2 separate regions of the Homo sapiens genome follow, and region 1 is linked to region 2. The links are contacts of gene promoters, found by promoter capture Hi-C in blood cells and fetal thymus (Javierre and others, 2016). All regions are on one chromosome and are shown on one strand. Each heading gives the region's core, a stretch centred on a gene start or on the middle of the fragment in contact. The rest is flanking DNA. Distances are from core to core; before and after follow the strand shown. Region 1 has its middle 3.0 kb from the start of TNFRSF10B. Region 2 holds the start of SLC25A37 (solute carrier family 25 member 37).

Region 1 (3,147 bases), core at 57-2,556, 460 kb before region 2:
CACAAAGGTTCTCCAAGGCCCCACCAGACTAGCTAGATACAGAGTGTCAATTGGTGCATTCACAAACCCTGAGCTAGACACACGGTGCTGATTGGTGTGTTTACAAAACTTGAGCTAGATACACAGTGCCAATTGGTGTATTTACAATCCCTTAGCTAAACATAAAGGTTCTCCACGTCCCCACCAGACTCAGGAGCCCAGGTGTCGTCACCCAGTGGATCCCGCACCGGGGTTGCAGGTGGAGCTGCCTGCCAGTCCCGCGCCGTGCTCCCGCGCCGTGCGCCCGCACTCCTCAGCCCTTGGGTGGTCGATGGGACTGGGCGCCCTGGAGCAGGGGGAGGTGCTCGTCGGGGAGGCTCCGGCTGCACAGGAGCCCACGGAGGGGGTGAGAGGCTCAGGCATGGCGGTCCCGAGCCCTGCCCGTCGGGAAGGCAGCTAAGGCCCGGCGAGAAATCAAGCGCAGCGCCAGTGGGCCGGCACTGCTGGGGGACCCAGTACACCCTCCGCAGCCGCTGGCCCGGGTGCTAAACCCCTCATTGCCCGGGGCCGGCAGGGCCGGCCGGCTGCTCCGAGTGCAGGGCCCGCCGAGCCCACGCCCACCCGGAACTCCAGCTGGCCCGCAAGTGCCGCGCGCGCAGCCCCGGTTCCCGCTCGCGCCTCTCCCTCCACACCTCCGTGCAAGCTGAGGGAGCGGGCTCCAGCCTTGGCCAGCCCAGAAAAGGGCTCCCACAGTGCAGCGGTGGGCTGAAGGGCTCCTCAAGTGCCGCCAAAGTGGGAGCCCAGGCAGAGGAGGCGCCGAGAGCGAGCGAGGGCTGTTGAGGACTGCCAGCAAGCTGTCACCTCTCAGTACTACGGATTTTCAAGAATACAGGAGTTTTTGGTACTGGGAGTAGATGACTGGGGGGATCCAGGCAAGACTACAGGGGAGGGCGGCAGAGAAGACTTAATTCCCAGCTGTGTACTTGGAAAACCGTGCTCAGCTGGGGCCAGTCCCTGCCAACCGCCATGCCTGTTAATGGAAATAAGGTCTCCATCCTCAGGCTGTCAGGGTGACTTCAGATGAGCCTGGAGCTGAGCTCAGTTCCGGACCCCAGGTCCTGGCTCTGTCAATGCCGGACTGGTCCAATCTCTATGCCAGGTCCTTCCAACCCCATCCCTCTCTTTATCAAAGTAGGAATCAAGAAGATCCGAAGGCTCAGGCTCTCAGGTTGTTAGAGAGTACTGAAATTGGAGGCTGTGGATGGCTGGGCCCTGCCGTGCTCCCGGTCCAGCTCTGACTCTGGTATGGCCCCAGCTCCTTCCTGTAAAATGAGGGGATAAAAATCTTCAGCAGCCCTGTGTAAACTTCTGCAGGCTCTGTTAACAGGTCTAGGAGGACAAATTGCAGGGCTGGTGTCAGTCACTCTAGACTCTGGATCCCCAGGGCACATGTCCTCCACTCAGCAGAGGCTGCACCTTCTCCTACCTGTACCTCAGTACCAGCTCCCTGAGCTTGAGGCAGAAATTTCTGAAGACTGGGGTGGAGCGCCATGCGGAGGGGCCGTAGAGGAACAGACGAGCCAGAATTCAAATGAGGACGGTGATGGCACTGCAGGGCCACAGCCTGGTTTACCTGCCACTCTTCCAATTGTCTTTCTGTTGGGCACCCAGCCGGTGCCCCAGTTTGAAGAGTGAGCAGGAAAGGTCTCAATCCGTGTGGCCACAGATGGCTGTTCACAGCCTCTACTGAGAGACCACAGTCCCAGTTCCGGTTCTCTGTCCTGCATCCAGAAGTGGCAGGGCAGCGAGGCTCTAGCTTCCAGGTTGGGGATGGGGACAGTGGAGACAGTGCCATGCCCTGAGCCTGTGCTGTTGGGCAGCTGGTGTCCTGCTCCCAGCCAGAGACTGCACATCTTCATGTAGTGGATTTTCCTAACAACCTGGGGACATGAGAGTAGGTTGTTTTCCCTGTTTTACAAGTGGCAAAACTGAGATTCAGGAGCAGTGTCTCCAGCATTTTTGGCCTCACCTTCTGTATAATAGCAGCCATATTTGCACCTCTACAGGGCTAGAGTTCTCTGAGCAGCTGCTTCTCTATTCTCTGTCCTGCACTTGGCCTCTGGGAGCTCGTATGGTTCCTCAGCAGAGTCCACAGGGCCCTCCCTGTGCTACAGCCTGGAGCCTGTCAGGCGGTGAGCTGAAGCCACGACTGCACTCACCTCATGGGTTTGCGGGGAGAATGATTCACCCAGGAAGCAGACAGTGAGCCCTTTACTCTGGGAACACCTGTGCCTGGAGTCTGCTGAAGGCAGGGAGGACAAATGAACCCCATGTGAATCCTACTCCCTGGAGCCTACAGTGTGGTGGGAGAGGTGACACCAGGGGTCATATAACTAATAGGAGGTAGCATGAGGGAGGCCTGAGATCTCACCACCCTTGCCTCCCCCTCCTCCAGAGAGGCTGTGCTGGAGGGAGGCCATGCCATTGCAAGGCCATAGGATGTGGTATTGTTTGCCTGGAAGATGTGGTTTGATTACAGCCACCATTGAGGGTCATGGAGGCAAGCTAAGCTCCCTTTAAGGGTATTTTTTTTTTGGCTGGGCCTGAGAATTAAGTTGACATAAGACAGGTCCACAGGAGAAAAGCACACAAATTAATACAATGCAAGTTTTACATGGCACAGAAAAAGCAGTGAGAGTCAGTTACTTATATACTGAATTAGACCAAGTAACTTGGGAAGAAGCAAGTAAATATGTGGAGGCTAAAAAGATGAGTTATTCTATTCTTTTTTTTTTAATATCTGCTCCTTTAAGGAATAAAAAAGACAAGCTTACCTTTTAAAATATATTTTACATATGTATACAATCTAAATTTATTTTTCTCTCTTTATCCCTGAATACTTTATTATTTTTTTTTTAATTTTTTGGAGACAGAGTCTTGCTGTGTCGCCCAGTCTGGAGTGCAGTGGCATGATCTTAGCTCACTGCAAGCTCCGCCTCCTGGGTTCACGCCATTCTCCTGCCTCAGCCTCCCAAGTAGCTGGGACTACAGGTGCCCGCCACCACACCCGGCTAAATTTTGTATTTTTAGTAGAGACAGGGTTTCACCATGTTAGCCAGGCTGGTCTCTATCTCCTGACCTTGTGATCCACCTGCCTCGGCCTCCCAA
Region 2 (2,993 bases), core at 458-2,957:
AAGCCTCCATCACTAGCACAGTAACCATGCGATTCTTTTCCTGAGCACATTTACATCTTTGTGAATGCAATGGTTATAGAATTTCGTTTTGTTTTTTTCACCTAACATTACATTATAATCATCGTCCATGTCGTGTAATGTAAATTCCACTTGTAAAGGCTGCATAATATTTCACTAATATTATGCACACATCATAATTTCCTTAGCCATTCCCTTCTGGTTGACCATTTAGGTTGTTTCCAATGATTTACTGCTCTAAGGAATGCTTTGAAGAAGAGCTTCCTGTGTATTTGGGTTTTTGTTACATTCCCAGAAGTGGGGCAGTGGGTTCTTACAGACTTAATGCTTAAAGGGCATCCACTTAAAAATAAGGATCAACAGCTTCTGATCAGTATTTCTTAAAAACGACCTTTGACAAAAGTAGAGTTTTCTCTAGCCATTACAGAGATGGCTAAGTAAAAACACAGAGCCTGTTTTTACTTATCACATCCTTAGCACTCAGCTTGCCAGCTACTATCTGCAGCTACCAAAACTAGGCAAACAGTGCTCTTGGTCCTGACGCCTCTATTGACCTCTACCCATGCTCACATTACTGTATCTCAAATCCCTAAGAGCTGCTTGGGATGCTGATCACGGTGAGGGCAGAGAGTAGGCTCAGCCTCTTCAGGGTCTTCCCCACCCTTTCATATCTCAGGATCCAGCTTTCCTGACGAGAAGCCTTGTCTAGATAAGGCAGGGAGGCCCTGGTGCCTACAAGTTGATCAGCCCAAGTCATCTTAAGCCCTGGAACACGCAATTTAGACGGACACTTCCAGAGGCAGACAGGTCCCTCCCCTACTTTCTGATTTCTCCCTTTTTCCCCAGACTGGAGCAAAACAATATTAAAACAGCCTGGGTTACACTTTATTGAAGAGGCCAGCTTAGGACGACTTTAAGAACTAGGTGACCACAGTCTTAAGACAGGCAGGGGCAAGGCTGTAAGATTTTACTCTCAGCCAGTTCACACTCCTAACTGTGAGATCAGGCCTCTACAGACCTTATGGGCCTATCAAACCCAAAGAAAATTTCCTGGAGGTGCCTACTCAGAGGGGCTCCCTCCTGGTCACTCCTTATAGCCTTGCTCGGTCCAGGGCAGGGTGGGTTCGGTCTCTCGGTGAGAACAAGAGGAACACATTTAGCTCTGCATTATGTATTTAGGTTGAGAGAAACAATTTCGAATGAATGGGGGTCTCTCCAACAAAGCAGTCTAGAACGGGCCCCTGAGGTTTGAATTCAGGCCTTAGGAATGCCAAAGCTCACTGAGCGATTCTGTTTGCAAACCCACCCGCCACGGGGACGGATTTTCCCCGAGACACTGTCACCCATGCCTCCAGCTCTGGGCATACCCCACTGCGGCCCCTCCCCAATGACCTCCCCTGCCCCTCGCGGACCAGCCCATCCTCAAGATAGTACAACTTTCCGGGCCACCCCACGTCTCCTCTCGCCCCCGTCCGGTTGCTTGGAAATGTGCACGGGACGGTGACGTCACACAGGGAGGCGGGTCCCCACTGTCCCGCACACCAATGGCGCGGCGGCCGCCGGCCTCTTGGTTCCCGGCGATTGGTGTCTCTGGCCGCTGCGCTCCACCCCAGCCCGCCATGGCGTCAGGCGCCGCGGCCCCGGGGAGGTGGCTCCCACTTTAAGAAGTGAAGTTTTGCGCCCCTCCCCCTCCCTGCCCACCTCCTGCAGCCTCCTGCGCCCCGCCGAGCTGGCGGATGGAGCTGCGCAGCGGGAGCGTGGGCAGCCAGGCGGTGGCGCGGAGGATGGATGGGGACAGCCGAGATGGCGGCGGCGGCAAGGACGCCACCGGGTCGGAGGACTACGAGAACCTGCCGACTAGCGCCTCCGTGTCCACCCACATGACAGCAGGAGCGATGGCCGGGATCCTGGAGCACTCGGTCATGTACCCGGTGGACTCGGTGAAGGTGAGGCGCGGGGAGACTTCGGGGACGCAACGAGCGGAGAAGGAGCGCGCGCGCGCATTTGCATCCCGCGCGCCGGCAGCCTCGGGGCAGCGTCCCGAAACCGAGCTCTCCCCAGGACCGCGGCTGGCCGGGGTCGCCCCAGGAGCAGCTGCGCGCAGCCTGGGCGCCGCGCCTTCCGCCGACCCCGCGAGGGTGCCCGGTCCTCGCCCCGCACCGCCCGCTGCTCCAGCCGCGTGCCCGGCCCCGGCTGCTGGCGGCGCTGAGGCGGGGGAGGCGGAGTGGCGAGCACCGCTGGCTTCGGCGGCGACTGGGCTCCCGGGGGACGCGATCGCTGAAGCTCTGCACAGTCTTACCACGCTGGCCGTTCGGGCTGGCTGGGGCCGCCCACACGTGCGCGGTTTCCGAGGGAGCTCCCCGCAGGGGAAGCCCTCACCACGCTGGAGCTGAGAAACGTGTGGCCCTGGCCCGGCCGCGCGCCCTCGGGACTTGGTGTGTGGCTGCTGCTCCCCGGGTTATTTCGGGAACTTGGGGCCGGCAAGTCTTCTCTCGACTAGTGGCAGCTCTTTACCGGTTCGACAGCGGCCCGTGGGATCCCCTTTCTGAGGGTTCCTGCACTTCTTCCCCCGACTTTGGGTCGCCGAGCCGCCGGGAGGCAATGACGTTTGCCTTCTCCTTTTGCTTGCGGGGAGGTGGGTGGGCTTGTGCCTTACAGCCCTTGCTGTGGATTGTGTGAGAGGCACTCAGTTTCCTTTAAACCCTGTCTGTCACTTGCCCCGGTAGTTTTAACTGCATTTCTGTAAAGAGGCAGCGTTACTAGGTGCGTTTTGCCTGGTAGACTGAGACCTGCCCTCTGTCAGCCTGCCCAGAACACCCCAGGGCCAGGATAGAGTAGTGCAGGAAGTAATGCCAGTATTGACTGTTACACGTTGCACTTTTATAGGCATAACTCGCCTAATTCATGCAACAGCCCTGGGGGTTAACAGATGAAGAAACTGAGGCGCAGAGAGGCGAACCGATTACCTTGCCCAG

What was found. Contacts are between HindIII fragments. The CHiCAGO score rates a contact against its expected background, and 5 or more counts as called.
Region 1: a contact is called between a fragment that was not itself captured here and the fragment with the promoter of SLC25A37 in region 2, in 1 of 17 cell types (neutrophils). The highest score is 5.2, in neutrophils.

What each region holds. Positions count from the first base shown.
Region 1 is chr8:23,070,507-23,073,653 of GRCh38, forward strand. It overlaps the pseudogene TNFRSF10B-AS1. Among named protein-coding and RNA genes, the nearest start is that of TNFRSF10B, 3.0 kb to the left of the region's middle. RefSeq lists enhancers at 1-24, 346-845. The HindIII fragment of the contact is 2,999 bases long and covers 1-2,806 here.
Region 2 is chr8:23,527,249-23,530,241 of GRCh38, forward strand. SLC25A37 (solute carrier family 25 member 37) reads left to right here and starts at 1,708. Exons shown (of 4, transcript NM_016612.4): 1 at 1,708-1,964. The coding sequence starts at 1,755. RefSeq lists enhancers at 1,402-1,451, 2,742-2,811 and silencers at 1,582-1,941, 1,992-2,241. The HindIII fragment of the contact is 6,335 bases long and covers 1-2,993 here.